Regions from separate parts of the Homo sapiens genome. Here all the other regions are linked to region 4. The links are contacts of gene promoters, found by promoter capture Hi-C in blood cells and fetal thymus (Javierre and others, 2016). All regions are on one chromosome and are shown on one strand. The core of a region is centred on a gene start or on the middle of the fragment in contact, and the rest is flanking DNA. Distances in the headings are between cores, read along the strand shown.

Region 1 (6,319 bases), core at 1,623-4,122, 1.2 Mb after region 4:
GATCTAGGAGGAAAACAATACACACAAACGAGAGGAAAGAAACCACTCCAGCTATCTAGAAAAACCATTTCAGATCTTCACACTTGAACTCAAAAGGACAACAAAGAATAAACCACCAGAGAGGGGAAGAATTTTTCTTTTCTAGGGGAAAGACTAGATAAACACACATAAGAATGGAGCCTTGAAGAAACATAATTTAGTGAACAGAAGAGAGGTTTAAAAACTATTATCCTCAGTGATACTTGAGAAGAGAGTACATTTATGAAACAAAAACAGGGTGTTATTATAGAGAAACAAGAGTGGGGCTGTCCAATAGGACTGGTGTCCTTATAACAGGAAGAGACACCAAGGGTGTGATTGCACAGAGAAAAATACCCTGGAAGGACACCAAGAGAAGACAGTCATCCACAAGCCAAGGGGAGAGTCCACAGGATAAATCAAATCTGCTGGCACCTTGATCTTGAACTTCCAGAACTGTGAGAAATTTCTGTCGTTTAAGCCATCCGGTCTGTGGTATATTGTAACGACAGCACTAGCCGATTAATACAGGTACTACTGTCTTCAGCCTACACAGTCAAGATTCACTATTAGAAACTGATGGAACAAGAACAATTCTAATTTTTTCAAGAAAGTTCTTTTGCTTTAGAAGAGTTAGTGATTCAAGAAATAAATGTATTAGGAGATTACCAACTAATACATACAGATGAAATTATGAAGTTAGAAAATCATCAGTGGATGCTAAAACTACTAGGTAAAAATTAGATGAGAAAAGGGACGTAATCCAATAGCACCTCCCCCCAGCATTATTTTTAATCATAAAGAAAAAATAGTAACTTTATGGTGAAGAAACCTCGCAGACACCACCTTAACCAAGTGAACATCATCAATACTGGGAGAAACCGATGTTATCTCTACCTTGATAACATGCACTGGAAAAGACACATCACTTAGTGGTGTTTCTCCAAAAATTCATAACCTGAAAGGGAACATCAGACAAACTCACTTTAAAGGATATTCCACACAATACCTGGTCTGTACTCTTAAATAACGTCATTTCAATAAATATAAAAGCCAAGGAACGGTTCCAGATCAAAGAAGACTAATGCAGGAATAACCCTTTCATCTGGAATGTTTTTTAAGCAATAAGTTTCTGCTTTCGAATTTAAGAGTGCAGATCCTTTTTTAATCCAATTGGTTCAGGGCTAGAATTACATTATTTTACATCTCCTTAAAGCTTTGATCCCCGCTACAATCTACAATATATAAATGCATGTGTGGTATCCGTCTATCATCAATTTAGGTGACAATAGGAGAAAAGTGCCTGGTGCCAATCTTTATTCCATAGTATGAAATTGTCTCTCAGGACAGGGTTTTTGGTGAGAGAAGCACAGGATATTGCTGGGTAACAGACTGGGTCAGGAAAGAGGGAGGCAGAGGGCAGCAGTTTTGCTAGAATTTAAAATTTGGTTGCTTTTGGAAGAGAAAGCGGGAGGTTCCTGGGAGCCAGAATGTTATGTTTCACAGATGTAAAAGTCATAGTCGGGAAAGACATCGCTTTAGTGGTGTTTTCAAATGACCTTTAAATGGTAGGGTTTTACTTGTAGCTTCCAGCCCTGAGGGTGGTTCTTGTTGCTTAAGGGCAAAAGGGTCAGGGGTAAAAGCCAGCCTTAGAAACCTGTCAAAAAAGATTTCCAGCGGGGCGCTGGAGAAACGTAGACCACGCCAGAATTCCTGTCTGGAGAAGCTCTTCATAGGGCGAGAGGCTGCGTGCCCCACAAGGTCCTTCAGAGGCACATTGTGGGACTCAGGGTAGCAACTTCTGGCGAGTGGAGCCGCAGTTACAGAAGCGAAACATTCGAAGGCAATTTACTTCCAGCTTTCGCAACACCCACCCTCAGCCATTACCCTCCCTTGCGCAGTCGCGCCATAAACTTCTCTGCTTTCCCCCACAGCCCTCTGGGCTTCGACCCATCAACTGAACACGCGCCAAACATCGCGCGCACGCGCCAAGCTCGGCCCAATCAGAGTTCCAAACCGCGGAGTGTTCGCCACGGCGATAAATTAACCTCAGCGTGGCGCGGGGTCTCGAAGCCGAATAACGTACGTGATTGGCCAGCCTCTTCCATATTCTTTTAAGGGCGGAACCTGGCCCTGGAGCCACGCCTAGCGAGCTGTTCTCTTAATATGGGTAGGTTCGGGCGTGGAGCTGGCAGCTGCGCGGTGTGCCGAGACAGGGCGTGTTAGTTATTTAGTGCAGGTGTAGCAGGGAACGAGGGCATCTGTCGCAGCCGGAGTGCGTCCTGCCGAAGCCTGTGGTTGCACGCCCACCCTCTTAGGGGCTGCCCTCTGCGGTGAGTGTGTGCGGCGTCGCACTTGGGGTTGCTTCTCTCTGCGTGGCCGGACCGGGGCTGGACCCTTCCCAGTCCCCTGCCCTGCCCCATCCCCTCCCTGCACCCGGACGCCCTTCAGGCTGACGTGGCTTTGGTTTAAACCCTCTCCACACTTTTCCAGGTTGTCCGTTACCGACTGTAATGCTCCAGGTTTCTAGGCGTGATGCACAAGGCCTTTCCGAATCTGAACACTACCTTACCCTTCCATGCAGTTGGCATTTCAGCCATTCTGAATTTATTGTCCTTTCTGGACCGGAGCCTACTTGTTCAGATCTTGGTGCTTTTACGAATTCTGTTTTCTCTCACCCTCAGTCTTTTTCACCTGAAATCGTTTTACTTCTAAGAGTCAGCTTAGACATCACCACCTGTGTAAAATCTTCTCTGTCTGCACCAAGCTAACATAGCCACTCCCTGCCCTGTGAAGTTGGACGTGTGCCTTGTTTTGTGACTTCTGTCACGTAGGATTGTAATGATTTTTTTTTTTTTTAATCTAGAAGTCTCCCTTCTCCACTGGGACATTGGGAAGACAAAAGCAGTGCAATGTTCATGCTTGCATTTTTTTTTTTTATAATAGTGCCTGGAGCACAGTAGATGCTCAAAAATAGTTTGAGGAATGAAAAAAAATGAAAGAATGATGGATTAGGCCCATGAGTGTGTGAGATCACGTCCAGGATGTGACGAGAGAAGAAGGGAGATGTTCAGGAGACCCTGAAAGGTGATGGAAAGCCATTGAGACATGGAAAGAATGGCAGAGTCAGGTTTACTGTGAAGCCATGCTTTTCCCGGTTTGAAAACCTGCCTGGGATAGAGATTGGAGTTGATGCCATTAATACGTCTTGGCAGAAGGAAAAGGGAGGAAATGTAGTTGATTTGCGTTTCATAGCCTTTATGAAAATACGTGCCATTAAACTTAGGTTGTGTACTAGTTAGCTTCTCAGCCTTGGTGTGTGTTGGTCTCTTGCATTCCGTAAGGGTCCTCGCTGTCAGCAACAGAACAGATGCCTCTGGAACTGAAGATCTAGGTGTGTCCCTTGCTGCCCCTGCCCAGCTCTGCCATGATCATGGTCATTATTGGGAGCACTGTTGATACAGAGGAGAAAGAGAAGGGGATAGGGAAGATGATGCCTGGCATAGCGGGACCCTTGGCCCCCATGGCTTTCCTCCCTCCAGCACTCGTTCTCACTGGGTAGAAGAGAGAGGCTGCTTTCAGCAGAGGAGCTTTATACCCTTCAGCTTTTGAAGAGGAGACTTTATGTGATATTTATAAATGGGGAGAATGGCTTAGCTATTTCGGTTGAGCTCTATTATCTCTTTGAAGCCATTGCTTTTATTAGGGAAGAAAAGATAGCCACTTGCTTCCTGAAGTAAATTTCAGTATTGGGTACTGAAAAGCAAGATCATTCTTAAATTTTCCTAAAGAAGAAGCTAATGAAGAATAATAGTGCTTTTTGGGAAGCTGGGTGGAAGTGAATTTGGAGATGTCAAGAGTCCACTTCCTCTGGCTTCTGTAACATTGACCCAAGGCTGCTCTCTGCAAACTCCCTGACCTCGGGACTCCTCGGAGCCTACGGGGTTCCAGGATGCTCTTCGGAGCCTCCACTAGGGCTCAGTTCTCAGCAGTGCACACACAGTGACACAGTGCTTAATATATACAAGTATTAAAATATTTCACTTGGCTACATTAATTATAAGTGTAATTTTTTTTTTTTCCTGAAAACAGGGTCTCGCTCTGTCACCCTGGCTGGAATGCAATGGTGCATTCACAGCTCACTGTGGCCTCAACCTCCCAGGCTCAAGTGATCCTCCCACCTCAGCCTCCTGAGTAGCTGGGACTGTAGGTACACACCACCACGCCTGGCTAATGGTTTTATTTTTTTGTAGAGATGGGGTCTTGCTATGCTGCCCAGGCTAGGCCTCAAACTCCTGGGCTCAAGGAGTCCTCCCATCTTGGCCTTCCAACGTGCTGGCATTACAGACTTGAGCCACCACACCTTCCTCCATATTTCTTTACTGATAACATTTTAGCTGTTACCAGGAAGTTTTATATATTAGTATCCAGATTAAACACAGGGAACAATTAACTGGCATGTACAGAGAATAGTTCTTGCATCTCAAGCTTTCCGTTCATTATTTTAATTTATCAAAAGGTAAGAATTAAGCTTTGAAGATAACAGTAAGGTATTGTACTACTAAGCATATGAGATGCCTGTCTTTCTTCTTGGGAGAGTTGTATCTTCTAACGCAGCACTTCCTTAGAGACAGCAAATTACCTTTGAAAGCTGTTTTGAGGAGTTTAGGTACCAAGAGCTTTCTGATGGGGAAAACTTCTTAGGCTGGAGACAGATATTAGACAGGTTCTACAGTTTTCTTATAGTCCAGCCAGATTCTTGAAATGCTCAGTTCCTACCGTAAGAGGCAGAGGAATACAGGGAGCATATGAGGGGAACTTGGATTTGGATAGATGTGGGTTCAAATTCTGCTACTTAGTACTATGTAACCTTAGAGAAGCTACTTAACCTCCCTGATCCTCAAGTTCCTTAACCAATGGTAACCTAAGTAACCACTTCATAAGACTGGTTTAATGGTTCACTTTAAAGGCAATAATGCACATTAAATGTTAGTTATTAACTAGTTAGTGTTAGATGCAATAATGTACATTAAATGTTAACTATTAATGTGAATATCCAGCTACAGGCCCAAATGCCTCAGACATACCCAGTTCCAACATAGTCAATGGCCTGAACTAAGAATTTCGCTTCATTAACTAGACTGGGTAAGGCATTTGTAATGGTGTTGGGATTTTTTGTGTGGCTTATTAGAACCTGTAGTGTTTGGTACTTTTGCCTAGGGTTCTAATTGATATAGATAGCTATTTATTTAAAATTTGTCCTGATTTATTTCTTTTCCTTCTTTTTGTTTTAACATGACATGTAATTTGCACACACATTCTCAAAGCTTCCAAGAAGATCAGTGTGGGCAATAGAGTGAGACCCCATGTCTACAAAAATTTAAAAAAACAAGCTGAGGGTGGTGTGCAAGTCTGCAGTCCTAGCTGTTAGGGAGGCTACAGTGGGAGGATTGCTTGAGCCCAGGAGTTTGAGTTTGTAGTGAGCTATGATCCTGTTACTAGGCAACAGGACAAGACCTTGTCTCTTTAAAAAAAAAAAAAAAAAAGCTTCCAGGCATAATTGTAATGCTGCTGATTTTGTGTATTAAAGAGATTTCACTGTAGAAACTCTTTCCCAAGCAGCAACTGTCTTCAGCTGGTTGATGAAGCTGATTTTTTTTTGAAGGGCCCTGTAATCAGCTTCCATTTCCATAGAGACAGAATCCCAGCTGCAGCCAGAGGAACTTTCTTTCATTTCTCTTGTTTGTTTCCTAATTTTTTAATCTCTTCAAGTTTATTGCCCTCTCTGGGTGGTCAAGCCTTTATTATTTTTTTTCCAGGTTAGACTGACACTTTTCAGATAAATCTTGGAAAACAACCTGCTTTCAAGGAAGTGGTCTTTCTAAAGGACCAGGCAAAATAATAAACAAATATGATCATGGGTTATCTGGAAGAGCTGTCTCAAAATCTTGTTAAGCCTGGAACACATGCCATCCATGTAGACCTTCTTTGGGGGAAAGATAAAAGAGCTGGGGAGAACCTGTAATTTTAGCTATAATCTTTATTAAAATCATTTATTTTTTATTTATTTAGTTTTTTGAGACAGAATCTCGCTCTGTTGCCCAGGCTGGAGTGCAGTGGCATGATCTTGGCTCACTGCAGCCTCCATCCACCTCTTGGGTTCAAGCTATTCTCCTGCCTCAGCCTCCTGAGTAGCTGGGATTACAAGTGTGCACCACCACAGCCAGCTAATTTTTGTATTTTTAGTAGAGACGGGGTTTCACCATGTTGGCCAGGCTGGTCTCGAACTCCTGACCTCAAG
Region 2 (6,481 bases), core at 1,874-4,373, 1.2 Mb after region 4:
GGTGAGAATATATTTGACCAGACGTAGAGACCCTCAAAGGTGAACCAGCTTTGAGGCAAGGATGGAAGCTGCAGTGAGGAACGTGGAGCATCCCTCCCTTCCTCCTAGGCTGACCCCCCACCCTTCCTACTCAATAAACTGTGGAGCATGGGAAAAGAGTGGCCTCTACCAGGAGGCTGGTGGAGAAACAGGTTTTGCTAAGGCTACAAAGTGGAAAGGCGGGGGATGTATATAGAGAATGATTGACCGTGCAGTTAAAGTTCACAGGATACAGCAAAGTTAGACAAGGACCAAGAGCAGGAGACGGTTGGGAGGAGGAGTGGAAGTCCTGAGCAGTAAGAGGAGTTTGCAAGCAGAGGTGGGTTGGGTCTTTCAGTAGGTTCCTAAGGACTGCAGATATTAGAGACATACTTGTGACAGGGAGGCTGCAAATACCCTGACTTTGGTACAACTTGTTTTTATGCAAGAACTGATGGGCATTCAACTGCATTTACTCCAGGCTTTTGAGAGGTAATGAGGGCTGCCCAAGTGTTACAAAGGGGAACCAGCACCTCATTACAGGCCCTGGCTGGCTTGGGGATGTACAGTGGAACCAAAGGCTCTGATTAGATTTGCTAAGGGGTAGCAAGGGCTGGATCAGGGCAATGATGGTTGTTAGTCTCATGGAGCTCAGGACTGGCAAAAGCCCCAGGAGGAGAAATCCAGTGAACTCTCAAACAGCCCAGTGGTGCTCAGAGCAATGGCACAGGCCTCGACTAGGAAGTCACATCAGAGGGGAGGGGTCTTGTTTTCAGCAGGGAAGTGTCTGTGGTTTCAGCAGAAACTTTGCCTCCCCTCCTCCCTCCCCTCTGGGAAGGTGCGACTTGTATCAGTTCCAAGGCCAAAGTGAGTCTTCTTGCAGAGCACTTCCAACAACAGAGCTAGTTTCCATGGTTAAATATTTAAGCCATACTTTTATAGGCAGTTTAATTTCTGTTATGCTGTTCTCTTCTAAAATAAATCTAACATGACTTGGCTTCCATTTCATTTCAGAGTCATGGAAATTCAAGAATTCAGTTCTGTGGCAGAAATGCTTTGGCTATGCCGGTGTTTTATTCTTCTATGAGTACTGCAATTGTCATTTTCAAATCTGGAGTTTTAAACAGAAATTCTAGAATGAATTTCACCTATCAGATAGCAGGTGAGCCCCAGAACTTCATCTTTTATTAAGAAAAGCTGCCATCATTACAATTATTCCTAGAATAATTACAATTATTTCTAGAATTGACTCCCGTTAGTAAATTAAGATTTGTTAACAAAAACCACACCCATCTCTTAACTAGAACCCAGGCCCAATTTAGCAAATTACTAAAGTTGGTTTCTAAAGAGGTAAAGAGAATACAATACTAACCAAGATGCTTAGAATGCTAGCATTTTCTTCAACGTCTATGTAGTTGATTTTAAAAATATACCAGTTATTTTGTTAATTTACGCACTTAACCACACTGAATATACATATTTATTTATGAGAAATATATATATATTTACAAGAGCTTTATCAAAATATAATCCTCATGTCATACAATTTACCCATTTAATGTTTATATTTCAGAGGTTTTTAGTATTTTCACAAGGTTGAAAATCTTAGAAAATTATTTTTGTAAAAATCAAAAAGCCTTAAAAGAGTTACCTGATTACTATCACTGAGAAGTTTATTTTCACAGAACACTTTATTTGATATTTATTTTGAATTGATTCAAATGAAAGCTGCCTTTGGTTAAACAAACAAAAGTACTTTAGATTTTTTTTACAAAAAAAAAGGTAAAGAACGATTTCCCACAAATAACTCACAAATGGATTTAAAATCCTTGCGCAAAACTCTGTCTTGGAGGTAGTGTCCTTGTCTAAAAGAGAGTCTGAATGCTAGCCACTTCACCTCAATGTGATCAGAAAAGTTCAAAGGATCCTCGAGTATTCGTCTTTAAAGGAGAAGGCTCCTGTGTCATGCTTCCTGTAGGGGTGTTTGTGTGAATGAGCTGCTGCATTGCATGTGTGTGTGCTGCTTGAAATTCACTTCACTGCTCAGGGTCTCAATTATCTCAAAGGTAAACGAAGAAGCTGGATTACCTTTTTCTAAAGTTTGTTCACATATAATGATCTTTTTGAATTATTCCTGCGAAGTTGAAAGAGCACTGAACGCTGGAATGCATACATTAATTATGCATATTTTTCTCCTAAGATTGCAACAGAGACTATCACAAGGCATTTGGCAACCTGAGGAGTACTGGATGGCCAGATAACTACGACAGTGACATGGATTGCACCATTACTCTCACAGCCCCCCACAACCACACCCTCTTTTTTCATTTGTTTGGCATTGAGAACTCAATTGAATGCAGAAACGATTTCTTGGAGGTAATATGCATTTGAATATCATTTAAATGATGATGGATTTTACACCTTTTCTTTAGTGCTTCTAATGCTCTATGATTCTTACTTGTTTCATTAATTTATTCATTACCCTTTCATTCCCTAAACATTTACAGAGCACCAGTCCAAACACCGGAAATTGGGAACCTCAGGGCCCTCGGAAGACTCCTAGTCTGGTGGAAAGGACAGATGGGGTATAGCCAATTACAGCACAATGTGGAAAGGACTAACTGAGTCCAGCAGGGGTAGGGGTTCCTAACTCAGTCTGGGAACTAGAAAGCTTCTTTAAGAGGGCAATATGTAAGTTGAGACCTAAAAGGATCAGAGGAAAGTCTAAGAACAACAAGCTGATTCTGTAAAATGAAACTGAATGATACTAAATAGCTCACCTAATTTCCCTGACAGCTACAGTAAGTTTGGGGCATCGTCAACATCCTCTAAAGACAAGTGTTGCCTTGAAAAAGTGCTCCCTTGTTGCAGGAAGTGTGGTCTGTCCTTTTTCCACCACAACTCCAGAGCTCTCATTTGGACACAGAAGTGACTTTGCTGTTTGCCCATTCTCCACCCATTCACCCCCAACTCCCACCCCAGGACACACTGAGAGAGAAGCCCCCCTTGCACCTGGAGCAGGCAGAGCCATGCCCCTTGTGGGCCTGAACCTTTGGGGTCTTCCAGAGCCCCTGGTGAGCTCCCTCTGTGCTCTTTCTGCCACATCACCTGCATTGAGCATGTGAGATGGAACATGAATATCATTGCTCATAGGCAGGAAACGGTCTGAATAAGACTCATCTGATGCGGACCCAGTGTGTGGAACTCAGCACCTGTGTTTTGCCAGAAAACCCCCCAGAGCTCATGCGGTTGTGACCTTTGCAAGCTCTGTTGAAAATGCATTCATCCTTAGGAAATAAACTCAGGTGGAACCTGAGACTCAAAAGGATAAGGATGCTGAATTCCTCTGAGAGTGGAATTTAAATCTAAACCTCATCCCGATGCTCTCTAAACTGGCTTTGTTTCACCATACAAGAGGCTTCAGTAAGGTTTCCAAAAAGTTTGCTTGTTCCTCTACACCTGATCTGGAGTCGTATTTTTTGTTTTATTTTTTTTTCTCACTGCCTCTTTGATCAGGTCTTCATTCAAAATAAGCTTCCCAAGATGATTTGATCTTTGTAGCATAAACAAATGTACTGGTGTATGCAGCAGGCTTCTTTCCTTCTGTGGGAGGATTCTTTCCAGTGGGCTTCTGTTCAGCTGCTAGTTTCTTGGTAGCTGCAGCCTTTGTTCCCAACAAAACATCTTTTCTCACCTGCAACCCACCTCATCTGATTTGGCTTCTAGGGCTGCTGTCACCTTCTGCCCGGCCTGGTGAGGAAGGGTGTTCTGGCACATGGTCTTTGCCTATGGGTTTAGCTTCAACATGATTCTTGATGCAGTTTTATCATCCTGGAAAGCTCTCCCCTTTGGAATTCATCTAAATCCTTTATTAATCAATAGCCTTAACATGTAGTTTCATAAATAACACTCAGAGGAAGCTCATGCCTTTTCTAAAGGAATATTCCCATGACAGGAAACCAAAAGATGTATGTAGCAGGGAGGAAACGAAGAGACAAATACAGTATTCTTTGTGCCGGTCAGGTTACTCAACTTGGACCTACGTACCTCCCCCACCACGGAGATCCATATATTTATATGAAGTGTAAAGCAGAAAGAATGAGGAGAGTGGGATCTGGATGAAAGATGGAATAATCCCGTTAGGTTGGAGTCACAGTGCAACTAACTCTTAACTCACTCCAGCTTGAATGGACCATTATTGATCAGAGTCAACATTTGCCATTTGCCTGATAGATGCTGGGAAGCAAAGCCTTGCTTTCCAGCCATGGACAGTAAGAACTCTTCCTCCTCGCTGTCCTTCATTACTCCGTAGAATGGATCTGAAACTTCCTGTCCCATAAGCAAAGAAAGGAAACCACAGCTTAGGCCTGTAAAATGTAGCTCCGTCTGGCTCTCGGTGGGAAGACTGTGGGCATAGTTTATTGGCAGCTGGACCAGGAAGCCTCAGCATTCCATTCTTGTGAACTGCCGTAGGAACAGAAATGTCTGACTGAGGATTCTGTGTTACTACCAAGTGAGGGCCGAGCTCTAGACCATGCCTGGAATCTGCGATTGTTTTCATGCCTTCACCTCCCCTTCCAGGATCCTCTGATGTCGCAGGGATGCCCGCTGCTCTCGGTGGCCCCATTCCTCCTAGGAGACGAAAGTGAATAAGACAAGTTGTTGGCAGTGTCCGTGAAAATTAGTATCTCACTGCTCCTCTCAGAGCAACGCCATTTTAAAAGAGGACCCCTGGGTGAAAACACCCAAACTCAAGGGTATGGTGCTGGAAGGTCTTAAATATGGCAGCCCTCCTATCTACTAGTGGATAACTGGCTACTCTGTCATGGCAAGTCTACTTTATTTAAACACTTAGCAGAATAATCCCTGAAGCACTAGAAAGGCATTAGTCTCTCCCATGGGCTACTACATAGACCTAAAAGGAATCTCACCTGATCAACACAGCCCAGCAAGATTAGACTGTCTTAACTCTGTGACTTAAGATACCAGCAATTAACCAAATTTTAAATCATGGAATTACAAAGGGAAGAGAGGAACTTCCAGTGTTTTGAATACATGGATCAGTAAAATCAGCATTTCTACATGTCAGGCTGGTTCCAACATACATTGCCTGTGTAACGTTTCCTTTAGAAGCGTCGAGAGCCCTCCTGGAAGCAGGTCTAGTTGTGAATGCAGGGTAGGAGCCAGGCTGGGGGACAGAAAATGGTTGAATTCACAGTGTGGTTCTCTCTTCCCTCAAAACACCAACTCATTTCCTGTTTTTATATGTGTCTATTCAAAAATGAGGAGTTGAAACAAAAAAGCAACAAGGCCTCGGAATGTGTTTTTAAAACACGTTTAACAACAGTCAGAAGTTGTATAGATTTATAATTCTGTCCTTCACCCATACAGAAATTCCTTTTGTTCTGAACTTTATTATACTTTGCATTGTATTTTCTTCGTAGCCCCTTTACAGCCAAGTAATTTTCAATGGGAAACCCGTGTGCGCGCGCACTCATACACACACACACACACACTATGAAAAATGTATAATAGTTGACTGGAAACAGGGCAGGCAACATTGCCCCCACCCATCCCCACCCTTTAAAAATTCACTTTACCTACATTCTTCCAAATGTTTCCCCAAAAGCAAAGGCTGCAGGATCATAGCAAAAACTATTATATAAAAAAGCAGCCTGATGTTTTAATTGCTACAGGTTAACAGATATTTCTGAATCCAAATACAAATGTTTTTTGATCTACACATGGAACATTTTTCCCCTTTGCAAGTGAAGATGACTTCTGCATGTATTTTCAGAAAACCCTTCATTCTTATGTATATAAAAAGACAAAGCTTTTCCAAAAAGTGTCATCATTCAAATTGTCTCACAGTGTAATGTATATACATTGGAGAAGAAAGTGTAAGTTTAATAATGAATGACTCCTTCCTAAAGGTGAGAAATGGAAGTAACAGCAATTCACCATTACTTGGCAAGTACTCTGCTGCCAAACCCTGTCTTCTCTCAAAATAATGAACTATACCTATGATTTAAGAGTAATAGTGTAATTTCGGATCGTGGATATGAAATCATCTGGACCTCATCACCCTCTGGTAAGACATTTGTACTTTGTACGGGAAAGCAGTGTAGGTGAGTAAAACATAAGGTGTCTAATAGAAAAAGGCAAAGTAACCTTATATTTTTTAGCTACCTGTGTAACTGATTAATTCATGTTAAGAATAGAGATTTTTAACAATGAAGGTACAAATTATTTTGTTGTTGTTGTTGTTGAGATGGAGTCTTGCTCTGTCGCCCAGGCTGGAGTGCAGTGGCACGATCTCAGCTCACTGCAACCTCTGCCTCCTGGGTTCAAGTGATTCTCCCACCTCAGCCTCCCTAGTAGCTGAGATTACAGTTGCATGCCACCATGCCCAGCTAATTTTGTATTTTTAGTAGAGACGGGGTTCTGCCATGTTGGCCAGGCT
Region 3 (5,960 bases), core at 2,550-5,049, 1.6 Mb before region 4:
AGACCAGGTGCAGTATCTCATGCCTGTAATCCCAGCACTTTGGGAGGCCAAGTTGAGATGACTGCTCGAGTGTAGGACTTCAAGACCAGACTGGGCAATAAAGTGAGACCCATTTCTACCAAAAAAAAAATCAAGAAATTAGCTGGACATGGTGGCACATGCCTGTGGCCTCAGTTACATGGCATGGCAGGCTGAGGCAGGAAGATCACTTGAGCCCAGGAGGTGGAGGCTGCAGTGACCCATATTCATGCCACTGCACTCCAGCCTGGGCAACAGAGTGAGACCCTCTCTCAAAAACAGATAAAGTGGACAGAAAATAGGTCAGTAAGGACTAATCATTTAAGGGACAAGCCCCCAGAAGAGTGGCTACTAGAGTGGGAGGAGGAAAAGCAGAAGGAGAAAGAGTTGAAGATAGGCGAGGCTGTGGTCCCAGTGCTGAATTCTGCCAAGCAGTGACTTGATTCATGAACACTCACTGGATGCTGACTCTGTTTCTCTTCTGAGTGCTGGGGTAGAGGAGAGGAGAGGTGGAGCACAGTTCTTGCTTTTATGAGCTTATGTTCTAGGAAGTTCAAGTATTTTTTCAGGTAGTATGAAATAGCAGGAAGAGGAAGCAGGCTAAAGGGACACAGAGTGATTGGGGGCTATTTTAAGTAGAATGATAAGGAAGAGCCTGTCTAGAGAGCTATTTGAACAGTGACCTGACTGAAGGGACAACAGAAAGCAGTGCTGACATTACAGGTAGCAGGATGACTGCCAAGACAGAAACGCATTTCATATGTGTTCGAGGAACAAACAGCAAGGTGACCAGCATGGGGAGAGTGAAGAATGAGGGAAACCTTGAATGAGAATAAAGCAATTCCATCTTGGATGCTAATCTGCCATATTCTGATTAATCCCAGTTCCAAGACTTCATCTATGATTTCTATTTTATCTTTTTAAAAAATATATTTTTTATTTTTTGAGACCGAGTCTCACTCTGTCTCCCAGGTTGGACTGCAGTGGCACAATCTCAGCTCACTGCAAACTTCACCTCCTGGGCTCAAGCGATTCTCCTGCCTCAGCTTCCCGAGTAACTGGGATTACAGGCGCCTGCCACCACGCCTGGCTAATTTTTGTATTTTTAGTAGAGACGAGGTTTTACCGTGTTGGCCAGGCTGGTCTGGAACTCCTGACCTCAGGTGATCCGCCCACCTTGGCCTCCCAAAGAGCTGGGATTGCAGGCGTGAGCCACCGTGTCTGGCCATACACATCCCTGCTGAAGCCCGCATTACCCTTCCCCTATGCTATAGAAGCCCTGGGTCGGGGGGGTGGGGGTGATGGCACAGGGATCCACCATCTTATCTTGGTGCCATCCCTGACTTGCCTTCTGTTCATAAACGCCTATTAAATGTTTCTTTCTGAGAAACTGGATTTGTCAGCCTCTTTCTTTGGTATCTCAGGTTCCTTGGCCTTTGCGGGTAGGTTTATATAGACCTGCTCAGCACAGGACAGGCAGTTTCTCAAAAAATTGAAAATAGAATTACCAAATGATCCGGCAATATCACTTCTGGGTATATAGCCAAAATAATTGAAAGCAAGGTCTCATAGAAATATTTGTACACTGATATTTATAGCAGTGGTATTCACACTCGTCAAAAGATGGATGCAGCCGAATTGTCCATAGGCAGATGAATTGATAAAATGTGGTATATACATACAATAAAATATTCTTCAGCCTTAAAAAGGAAGGAAATTCTAACACATGCTACAACATGGATGAACATTGAGGACATTATGCTAAGTGAAATAAGCCAGTTAGAAAAAGACAAATACTGTGTTCCTTCACTTATGTGAAGCGTCCAGACTGAGTAAGCAAACTAATAGAAACAGAAGGTAGAACGGGGGTTGCCAGGGACATGGGGAAGGGAGAAAATGGGAAGTTGCTTAGTGGATATAGAGTTTTGGTTTTGTCAGATGAGAAAGTTCCGGAGATTGGTTGCATGGCAATGTGAATATACTCTACATTACCCAACCCAAGGGCTCTCCTTGACCCCTGTTCCAACTGCCACTTAGAAGTGGTTAAGGTAGTAAATTTTATGTATATTTTACCACAATTCAAAATAGAATTATTATTTTTTTATTATAATTTTTTGAGATCCCTCACTCTGCTGCCCAGGCTGGAGTGCAATGGCGCCGTCTCAGCTCACTGCAACCTCTGCCTTCTGGGTTCAAGTGATTCTCCTGCCTCAGCCTCCCAAGTAGCTGGAACTTACAGGCACATGCCACCATGCCCAACTAATTTTTGTATGTTTAGTAGAGACGGGGTTTCACCATGTTCGCCAGGCTGGTCTTGAACTCCTGACTTCAGGTGATCCGCCTGCCTTGGCCTCCCAAAGTGCTGGGATTACAGGTGTGAGCCACCATGCCCGGCTGTCAAAATAGGTGTTTTGTTGTTTTTTTTTTTTTTTGAGATGGAGGTTTGCTTTTGTTGGCCAGGCTGGAGTGCAATGGCAGGATCTCGGCTCACAGCAACCTCCACCTCCCGTGTTCAAGCAATTCTACTGCCTCAGCCTCCTGAGTAGCTGGGATTACAGGCATGCACCACCATGCCCAGCTAATTTTGTATTTTATTTTAGTATAGATGGGGTTTCTCCATGTTGGTCAGGCTGGTCTCCAACTCCTGACCTCAGGTGATCCACCCACCTTGGCCTCCCAAAGTGCTGGGATTACAGGTGTGAGCCATTGCGCCTGGCCTTTTTTTTTTTTTTTTTTTTTTTTTTTTTTTTTTTTTGTGATGGACTTTTGCTCTTGTTATCCAGGCTGGAGTGCAATGGCACGATCTCAGCTCACTGCAGCCTCTCCTCCCGGGTTCAAGCAATTCTCTTTCCTCAGCCTCCTGAGTAGCTGGGATTACAGGCATGCACCACCATGCCTGGCTAATTTTGTATTTTTAGTAGGTATGGGGTTTCTCCATGTTGATCAAGCTGGTTTTGAACTCCTGACCTCAGGTGATCCACCCACCTCGGCTTCCCAAAGTGCTAGGATTACAGGCGTGAGCCACTGTGCCTGGCCTGAAAAAAAATTTTAAAGTTTGAGAAAATACAAAATTTTCATAGTCTCCAAGTATTTCTCCTAAGATCTTTCCCCCTATGAGGGGGAAAGATAGTAACTTTACAATGGAGAAACCCAGCAGAAACCTGAACCAAATGAACAAGTTCAACATCATCAGTAAGAAGAACTATCAATGCCATAACTCTGATGGAATGCACTGGGAAGGATTCCACATCATTTTTGTGCTGTAATTGCCAAAAGTTCGTAACTTCAGTCCAATCATGGAAATACATCAGACAATCCCAAATCGAGGAACATTTCACAAATACTGATCAGTACTGGTTCAAGATGTCACGGTTATGAAAGATAAGGAAAGATTGAGGAACTGTTATTGCAGTCCTACAAAATGGCGAGAGACTAAGAAATAACTAAATGCAGCGTGATCCTGGGTGGAATTTGGGAACAGAAAAAGGACATTAGTGGAAAAAGTGGTGAAACTCCAATAAGGTCTTTTGTTTAGCGAATATGTTCATTTTAAATCAGTTAAATTATTTAAATATATTTAAACATTAGTTAAATGTATTTAATTAAATTAATAAAATTGGTTATTTTGTGAAATAATTTTAATATAGTTAAATATGAGAATGTGGATTTCCTGGTTCTGATCACCGTACTGTGGCTATCTAAGAGGTGCATGTTCAGGGAGGCTGGGGGAGGAATAAATGGACATTATACTATTAAGTTGGAAGAGAGAAACCTACCCCATCAGTCACAAAACCCTCACATTCATGGCAGTGTGTTGGACGTTCCAGTATGAATGGCATTTCCCAGATGTCAGCGCGAGGTCCCTGTGGAGGGAGTGGGGCTCCCTGGGAATCTAGTGGAGAGCATTCGGGGCTCCCTTCCTCAGGAGCCTGACCTTCCTGCACAGAAGCGTCAGCCTCACCTCTGTACCACTGCCCCTCTGCCTCTCAGAACCCACTCGCCTTCAGGAAGATTCTACTGCCAGCCTCCTTTCCCAGATACAGCCTCCAGGGACTCAGCCCTGCCTTCCCAAGTGTTCCCGCCTCTCTTGGGAAGGGGTGCTCTCAGATCCCACACCCCTGGACTTCCCCGGGCACCACCTGCTCCTTCTTCACTTCTCCAGCTCTGCGTTCTCACTCTGAGGGTCCTCTCCTGCTGGGAATGTGTGTTGCTGGCAATAGTGAAGATTCCCCCCTGGGTTGCCCCCCATGCCCTGTTCTTCTGCACTTCCCTGGCTTCCTGCGTTGGTTCTGCTGGTGTCTCCTGCTTTTGGGTTTACGTGGCTTCCCAGCTTCCTAATTTCTCTGAAGTTGAGTTTGATGTGTGTATTGATGATGGGCTTTTTCCTCCTCCTCCTCCTCCTCCTCCTCCTCTTCCTCCTCAGTCTTGTTGTTGCCCCATATAGTTTCCAGAAGGAGAAAAGGGACACTGTAAAATTAAGCTGCTGCAGGCTGGGCACAGTGGCTCATGCCTGTAATCCCAGCCCTTTGGGAGGCCGAGGCAGGTGGATCACCTGAGGTCAGGAGTTCAAGACCAGCCTGTTCAACATGGTGAAACCTCATCTGTACCAAAAATACAAAAATTAGCAAGGCATGGTGGCATGTGCCGGTAATCCCAGCTACTCGGGAGGCTGAGGCAGGAGGATCTCTTGAACGTGGGAGGCAGAAGTTGCAGTGAGCCGAGATCATGCTACTGCACTTCAGCCTGGGTAACAAGAGCAAAACTCCATCTCAAAATAATAATAAATAATAATAATAATAATAATAATGCCATGTTTCTATCAGACCCAGAAATCCCGCAGAGTGAGCTGGAATTCTCTGTTTCTCTGTTTCCCCTCCATACCCACTGGCTCCTCTCTGCCCACTCCCTCTTGGACTGCATCACCAGGGTGCCTCACTGTCTGGCCCTAGTGGAATTCACACAGTGGAGGACGTCATAGGAGGTGGGAGAGAGAGAGAGAGGAGAGGTGGTTATTCGCTCAGATTCTTCCTTGCTGGTTTGGCAGTGGCCACATCTTTCTACTGATGGCTGCAGCTCCTGATGATCCTCCTCTACAGCCACAGCTCTCTTTGGGATCTGTGGACACCTTTCCTGTCCCTTTAGACCCAGGGAGATAACAGCTCCCACTCTTGCTGGTCCAGGACATTCCTCATCTCTTATTGGTTCCCTTAACTCGGTCCACACTTCTGTGAACAGCCCCTTTCCTCAAATACCCATTCGAATATGTCCTCTGGCTTCCACCAGGAGCCTGACTGATACCCACAGGTGGGTGAATGCTGGCGTGCTGCTGGGCCCCTCTTCCTCTGGTGACTGGCCAGCCAAGTCTCCAGGAGTCTCGTTAGGGTGGGCAGGCGGTGGGCACAGCACAAACTGTGAGCTCAAATCCACAGAACAAAAGTGGGAGAAGACACTGGCAGGATGGACCGCCACAAAACTCTTGGCATTCGTGACGTCTGTCCTTTAAATCACGCAAGGCATCATCATGCTTCAGACATGAGACAGCCTAAGTATTTAAGTGTTTCAAATAAACAAATTGTTTTTCAGAATTGGTAATTGCTAAGTTGGCAAATTGCTATTGGAAACGTTGGCTGTCCTTGACTCAATGATTCAGCCAGCTAGTCCCTTGCCAAACTAGTATGTTGGGCAAATTCCACCTTGAGAATTTATCTGCTCCTGTCAAAGCCAGATTCTCCCTGCCTGAGGGGAGGCTGGACTTGACCTTCTGACTCAGGATATGCTGACTTGGGTCCCTAGGTCCAAGGGCGGCCCTCTTGGGCCCACTGTGGGCTGGACCTCTTCCATGATGGGGTGGTGGAGGGCAGGCCCCACCTGATTCACACTTGACCTCATCCAGGCAGGTGAAGTTCCCTGCAGGAGTCACCTGAGCCCAGCCCCTCAGACCA
Region 4 (6,501 bases), core at 1,917-4,416:
CCGTTCATTGCTGGTGTGAACATAAGATGGTGCTGTCACTTTGGAAAACAGTTTGGTAGTTCCTCAAAAAGTTGGGTGTAGTATTATCATATGACCAAGGAATTCCACTCCTAGATACATACCCAAGAGAACTGAAAACCTATATCCACACAATATCTTGTACAAGTGTTTTCAAAGCAGCATTATTCATAACACCCGAAAAGTAGAAACAATCCAAATGTCCGTCAACGAATGGGTAAACAACTGTGGTATTCCTTTCCAGTGGTAAGAGACAGAATTGATTAGGGAAATGAGGCAGATTCACTAAACTCCACTGAAGGATGGACCTGAGCCAACAGTTCACAGGAAAATGACACAAAAGGCCTTTAAATATATAAAAAGCATCATGTTTAAAGCTTCACTTGTCATCATGGGAAGTCAAACTAAAACACTGAATTACTATACTTTGTCCACCAGATGAGTGAGGATCAAATTTTGAAGATGTACTGTCTTAGTAAGAGGTTTAGGAAATTGGTATTTTCCTTCTGTACTGATGAGAATGGGGACTTCTTGACAAAATCTATCTTAAGTACAATTCCACATGCCCTTTGATCTAAACACAATATTTTAGGAGTCTATCCTATGATGATACAAAGTAATATAAGAATGTTTATTGCAATAACTTCCAATAACAAGCTACCGAAACCAGCCTAAACAACCAAAAACAGATTAAATGAGTAGAGATTGGTTAAATAAATTATGGTACATTCACAATGAAATCTTACACTGCTGTTAAAAAGTATTAATTTTTCCTAAAGATATATTAAATACATATAATTAAAAATAGAAAGAAGACTAGCATTAGACAAAAGCTAGAGAAGTAGGGAAAGTACATATATTTTTGCGTATTCCTAGAGAATTTCTAGAAGCATATACAGGAAACTTAACAATCGTGAGAGAGTTTGGAGAGGACTTTGGCTGGGGGTTCTGGAGTGGTGCAGAGATTTATTTTCACCACTTACTCTTTTGTACTACTTGATTTTCTAGAAGCATATGCAAGATGAATTTCTAGAAGCATATACAAGAAACTTAATAACTGTGAGAGAGTTTGGAGAGGACTTTGGCTGGGGTCTCTAGAGTGGTGCAGAGATTTATTTTCACCATTTACTCTTTTGTACTACTTGATTTTTATCAAGTGCGTGCATTACTTTTTTGCCTTTTAGGTTTTTATTTTATGTATGTTTAGACTTTTAAATTTTCAAATAATCATAGATTGACAAGAATTTGTGAAGGGGTCCCAATATCCTTCACCCAGTTTCTCCACTGTTTACGTTTTACATTCTACAAAACAATATCAAAACAAAGAAACTGACATTAGCACAATGTGTGTTCTTCTATTACATTGTATCACATGTGTAGATTCCTGTAACCACCAAGACACAAAACTATCCCATCATCCCAAGATCTCTCCTGCTACCTCTTTGTAGTCACACTTCCCCACCACCGCCTCTAACGCCTGCCAACCACTAATCTGTTTTCACTGTTTATAATTTTGCCCCTGGAAGAATGTTATACAAGTGAAATCGTACAGTATGTGACTTTTTGAGATTGGTTTTTTTCACTTAGCCTAATGCTCTTGAGATCCATCCATTTAGTTATTTGCATGAATAATGTTTCTTTTTATTGCTGAATATTGGCATAGATGTGTCACTTAGTTTAAGCATTCACTTAGTGAGGGACATTTTGGTTCTTTTCTAGTTTCTGGCTATGATAGGAAGACACAGGAGAAAATCATCTGGACCTAGGAGTTGAGGATGAGTTCATAGGCATGGCACCCAAGTACGATTCATTAAAGAAAGAATTGATAAATTGGACTTCATCAAAATTAAAAACTTTGCCTCTGCAAAATATTCTGTTAAGATGATGAAAGGACAAGCTATGGAGGGGAGAAAATATTTGCAAACTGCATATCTGACAAAGGACTCACATTTACAATGCATAAAGAGCTCTCAAAACTCAACAGTAAAAAAAAAAATCTGATAAGAAATTGGGCAATAGACATGAAGAGACATTTCATGGCCGAGTCAAATCAGCATGTGGAAATATATTTAACATCATTAGCCTTTGGGGAAATGCAAATTGAGATCATGAGAAATCACTGCACACTTATTTGAGCAGTTGAAATAAAAATATAATGATAAAACCAAATGCTAGCAAGGATGCAGAGAAACCAAATTTCTCATCCCTTGCTTGTGAGAATATAACATGATACACACAGCCACTCCCAAAAATAGATTGACAGTTTCTCAAAAAACATGCACTTACCATATTACTCAACAATCACATTCCTGGGCTTTTATCAGAGAAATTATAATTTAAGTTTGCACAAAAAGCTACACACAAATGCTCATAACTGCTCTATTCGTCATGTTTTTATTGGCAGGTAATTTACATACAAAGAAATTCAAAAATCTTAAATTTCACAATTCAATGTGTTTTGTCAAATGCCTGCACTCCTGTCCCTCCCCCACTGTAAGATTTACAACACTCTAGCACCCCCAAAAAGTTATTTCATGCCCCCTTCAGCTAACCTCTACCATGCCACTCCATCCATAAACCCCAAAGCAACTATTAAAAAAAAAAAAAAAAGGCAAAAACCGCAATTACTTTTGCACCAACCTAATACTAGTCTGATTTTTAAATCACAGATTCATTTTCATATAAATGGAATCATACAATGTTTATTCTTTCATACCTGACTTCTTTCATTCAGGAACACGATTCAGAGCTTCTGCTGTGCAGTAGGGGACATCAATAGTTCATTTTCTTTTTATTGTCTGCTAACATTCCATTGTATGGATTCAACCTAGTCTGTTTATTCATTCTTCTTACTGATGAAGTTTTTTTCTCACGGCTTAAGTCCAAGGTGTGTCTTTTTCGTCCAGCCAGGTGGCCCCGGCAGGTCGCTCCTCAGGGACCCACATGGGTCAGGGCGGTGCAGCAGTGACCCACAGGGGCCAGTGCAGTTGAAGTGGCTTTGAAACCTGATTGGAGAAACAGACTGCTCAGCTGTTAAGAACACACAGCGCTCCAGAAAACTGGTGTTCAACACAACGCGTCACTCCGGCTTCCACTGCTGCTGCGGAGAGTCAGGTTCTCCGGCAAGGCCCCGCGCGCCCGCCCCCGCGCGCCCGCTTCTCTGTCCAGGGAACGCCTTTCTGCGGGCGGAGGCGGCTACGAGGGGGCGCTGCGAAAGCGGATTTCCAGGCACGCCTGGCGCCACTAAGCGGCGCTGAGACGGCGCTGCCTCCTGACTGCCGGTTGGAGGCTACAGGGGCTCTGGGGCAAGGGCCGCTTTTAGGAGTTTGCTGGTCACGAGGGGGGACGCGACCTCGTCCAAGATCTGTCTGCAAGGGACCCTTCCCAGCCGATGTGAACACAGCCCGGGGAAAGGGGTCTTCCGGGGAGCAAAGGCAGCCCGGGAAGAGGAGTAGGGGCTGAAACCAAAGGCAGCCTGGGTACCCAGGTTTTCCCAGGGGACAAGTCCCCCAGTTAGCTGGGCACAGGGAGGCATGGAGAGCGGCAGCAACTGCGTTGGGATGGGGCGGCTGCCCCAGGTTGGGGCGGTGACCCATGTTCCACCAGGCCAGGCGCAGGGCTGAGGTGGCTGACTCCTGTTTCACAAGTGAAGACCTGGTCACCCCAGCAGCAAGGCATTCCGGAGTGGGAGAATTCCTGAGTCCTGGGGAGGAAGCCGTGGTTACAGGGCTGTGGCCCTGAGCAGGAGCTGGCTGGCCCAGCAGGGTGGGCCGAGCACTTCAGTCAAGGCTGAGCGCCAGGCACCAGGGACTCAGGTCTGAGAGACCTGATGTACATCCTGCTCCAGAGCAGATCACAGAGATGCGCCCGCATGAATCCCCAGGCTAAGCCCAGAATTCCGTGGAAGATGCCCATGGGCCAGGAACACGGGTAGTCACCGCGCTAGGGCATCACACAGGGCCCCCCTTGGCCAAATACCACGAGGGAACTTAGACACCTGCATGGGGCCATGGAAGTGCCTGCAACCTCACACTCAGGCCTAGGGCTTACCGAGGTATTGCAGATATTTGTGTTCTCAGAGTAGGAGCTTAGGAATCAGTATCTTCTCTTCGCTACAGGGACAGAGATGCAGTGGCCTAGGACACATCACAAATATTTAAAACGATGTCCTTGGTCAAGGACAGAGGTAGCCAAGGCCAGCCTTCTCCCAGGAAACTAACCCAGGACCCCAAAGCACAGAGCTGTTAGGTGGGAGGGAATTGGTCTGTATGTCTCCCTATAGTGTTGCAACACTTCGGCGCTGGGCTCCCTGTCCCAGACTCACCTTCTATACTCAAGCCAGAGGCCTACGAAAGCCGGGTTAAGATCTTCCCCTGCCTGTCCCTGTAAAGCTTCCCCACTGTCTCTGGAAATCATTTGAGCTTCTTAGCCCCACAGCATGAGCCCGCTCTGACTCAGGCCCTGACAAGCTCTTTCTCTTCTGTCTCTCCCTCCTCTGTTGATATGGACACACCATTCCTTTGGCATGTCTAGTACAGACCAGATCCCCTGCTGTTGTTAGCATTCCTCCCTCTCCCTGGAATGTTCTTCCTTATCTGTCTACCTGATAAGCACTGAGTCATCCTGCAAAACTCTGCACAGCTTTCACCTTCCCTGAGGAGCCTCCCCTGGCCAGCCCCACCCTGTTGCAGGCAGAATGCTTGGCGGTGGGTTGCTGACCACAAATCCATTCCCCCTTTATTCCTTGCCAAGGGAATGCTGATTTTGCTCAGGTTGTCAACCCTCAGGGAGGTGACCCTAAACATGCCAAGTCCAACACACTAGCTCTACCCCCTGAGAGCATGAGAACAACACGGATGGGCATGTGCCCGGATCTGGCTTTGCCCTCATGGACTGCAGGTCAGGGGTGGGAAGCTCTTATAGAGCAGCCCCAGGAGCCCTAGGGGCCATCCTGCTGGCCATGCCATGGCAGTGTCAGAACCCCAAACAGCACCTGGGGTGAAGGAGCTACTGAAAGAGTGGAGAGACTCCACTTTGTCCTGTTAGATCTGTCTCAGAAGTATTTTTATTAGGATTGACTGGGTAAGCTTTCTTCCACAGGGAGCCTAAGGGGGCCCAGAGATTCTTCTCAGAATTGGAGGCCATCAAGGATTGGCTCAGGCTCGCTGGCTACTAGGCTCTCCTGTTCCCAAAGTCCATACTCTTGTTTGTTGTTATTCAAAAATATTTGTTGAAAGCCTGCTATCTACTAGGCCCTGAATGTTTAAAAACAAATAAAGTTCCTGCCTTCAAGGGGCTCACAGCTTTTCTGAGAGGACACGTAAACAGATAAAATGTCATTAGGGTGTAGTTCTGTGTAATAGAGGGTGTTCTTAGGTGCTGACAAGAGCATCTACTCTGTAGTTTAAGCAGAAAACAAATGTATGAAAGGCTATTGGACGGCTCACAGAATTCTGTGCGGCACGAACACTGTGTCTCAAATCATGCTGCAGGACAAACTTGGGGCTCAGTATGCTGGACCATGTTGTGCCTTCTCTCCCAGCCAGTGCTGCAATGGAAGAAAAGGAATTCAGCTCCTAGGAAATGCAAAACATTGATCTGAGGATAGAGAAGGAGTATATGTAGATATCATCTCTTGGAGGGAATTAAAAAGCAACGATGATAGAGCTATGGCAAGGCTACAGGTAGGGAATACCTATGGCAAAGAAAAACCAGAGCTAGACGATAAAGTAGTAAAACCAGATTTTATTCAGGACTATTGCAATAAGCGAAAAGAGACCTCAATATACAGTCAGGCTGATTCTAAAAACAGCATGAGAAGTTGAGACTTGGAGCCATGGAGCAGGTAGGAGTTGAAAGATGGAAAATTACCAAGAGGAAATGCCAGGGGTGAGGGTGATGCTGGCTAAACTGACCTAACAGGAGACCTGCTGAAGAAAGGCCAGGGTGACCAGACATCACCTGGGAAGGTGGAGGATGAGGACCCTGATCGGATATTGGGAGTGGTCAGATAGGAACAAGGGGAGTTCTTGCTGAATTGACTTAGTGGGATTCTTGCTCAAATTGAATTTTACAAGAAAGTACACAGATGAGCCTAGAAGGTTCAGGAGCCTGACTCAAGTTTGCTCAAGCAAAGAAACTTTGTCACTATTCCCTTATTTTTCCCCTATGCTGAAATTAAACTGGGCAGACTCCAAATTATCTTTAAAAACATAGGTGTGTTTTTAACAAATTCCAAAGAGCAATTGCAAAAGCACCTGTGGAGCGTGTCTGCTTTACCAGAAGTGCCCAAAAGGTTACTCCAGCAAAAATGATTAGCAGGTGCTGTGGATGCTGCTGGTGTCCTGGCCAGGGCCCCTTTGCTTCCTTCCCCAGGTGCCATGGGGGTCACCTGGTGGGAGTCAGCACATGGGGCCGTGACCCCTTACACCCATGCTGCTCCAGCTCTGACCCCAGGCAGAGAGAGCTTCCCCTCTAATCTGA

The links. Contacts are between HindIII fragments. The CHiCAGO score rates a contact against its expected background, and 5 or more counts as called.
Region 1: a fragment that was not itself captured here is called in contact with the fragment with the promoter of LINC00842 in region 4 in 4 of 17 cell types (activated CD4 T cells, total CD4 T cells, total B cells and 1 more); the score reaches 6.0 in activated CD4 T cells.
Region 2: a fragment that was not itself captured here is called in contact with the fragment with the promoter of LINC00842 in region 4 in 2 of 17 cell types (fetal thymus and naive CD8 T cells); the score reaches 7.3 in fetal thymus.
Region 3: a contact is called between a fragment that was not itself captured here and the fragment with the promoter of LINC00842 in region 4, in 8 of 17 cell types (activated CD4 T cells, M1 macrophages, M2 macrophages and 5 more). The highest score is 11.1, in activated CD4 T cells.

What each region holds. Positions count from the first base shown.
Region 1 is chr10:45,220,351-45,226,669 of GRCh38, reverse strand. LOC105378283 (a long non-coding RNA gene) reads left to right here and starts at 2,160. Exons shown (of 6, transcript XR_001747443.2): 1 at 2,160-2,351. The HindIII fragment of the contact is 3,272 bases long and covers 1,237-4,508 here.
Region 2 is chr10:45,237,846-45,244,326 of GRCh38, reverse strand. It overlaps the pseudogene CUBNP2. Among named protein-coding and RNA genes, the nearest start is that of OR13A1, 75 kb to the left of the region's middle. The HindIII fragment of the contact is 863 bases long and covers 2,692-3,554 here.
Region 3 is chr10:48,002,212-48,008,171 of GRCh38, reverse strand. No RefSeq gene overlaps it. Among named protein-coding and RNA genes, the nearest start is that of FAM25C, 5.4 kb to the right of the region's middle. The HindIII fragment of the contact is 8,536 bases long and covers 1-5,960 here.
Region 4 is chr10:46,395,027-46,401,527 of GRCh38, reverse strand. LINC00842 (long intergenic non-protein coding RNA 842) reads right to left here and starts at 3,166. Exons shown (of 4, transcript NR_033957.2): 1 at 2,735-3,166. RefSeq lists an enhancer at 4,291-4,906. The HindIII fragment of the contact is 4,014 bases long and covers 394-4,407 here.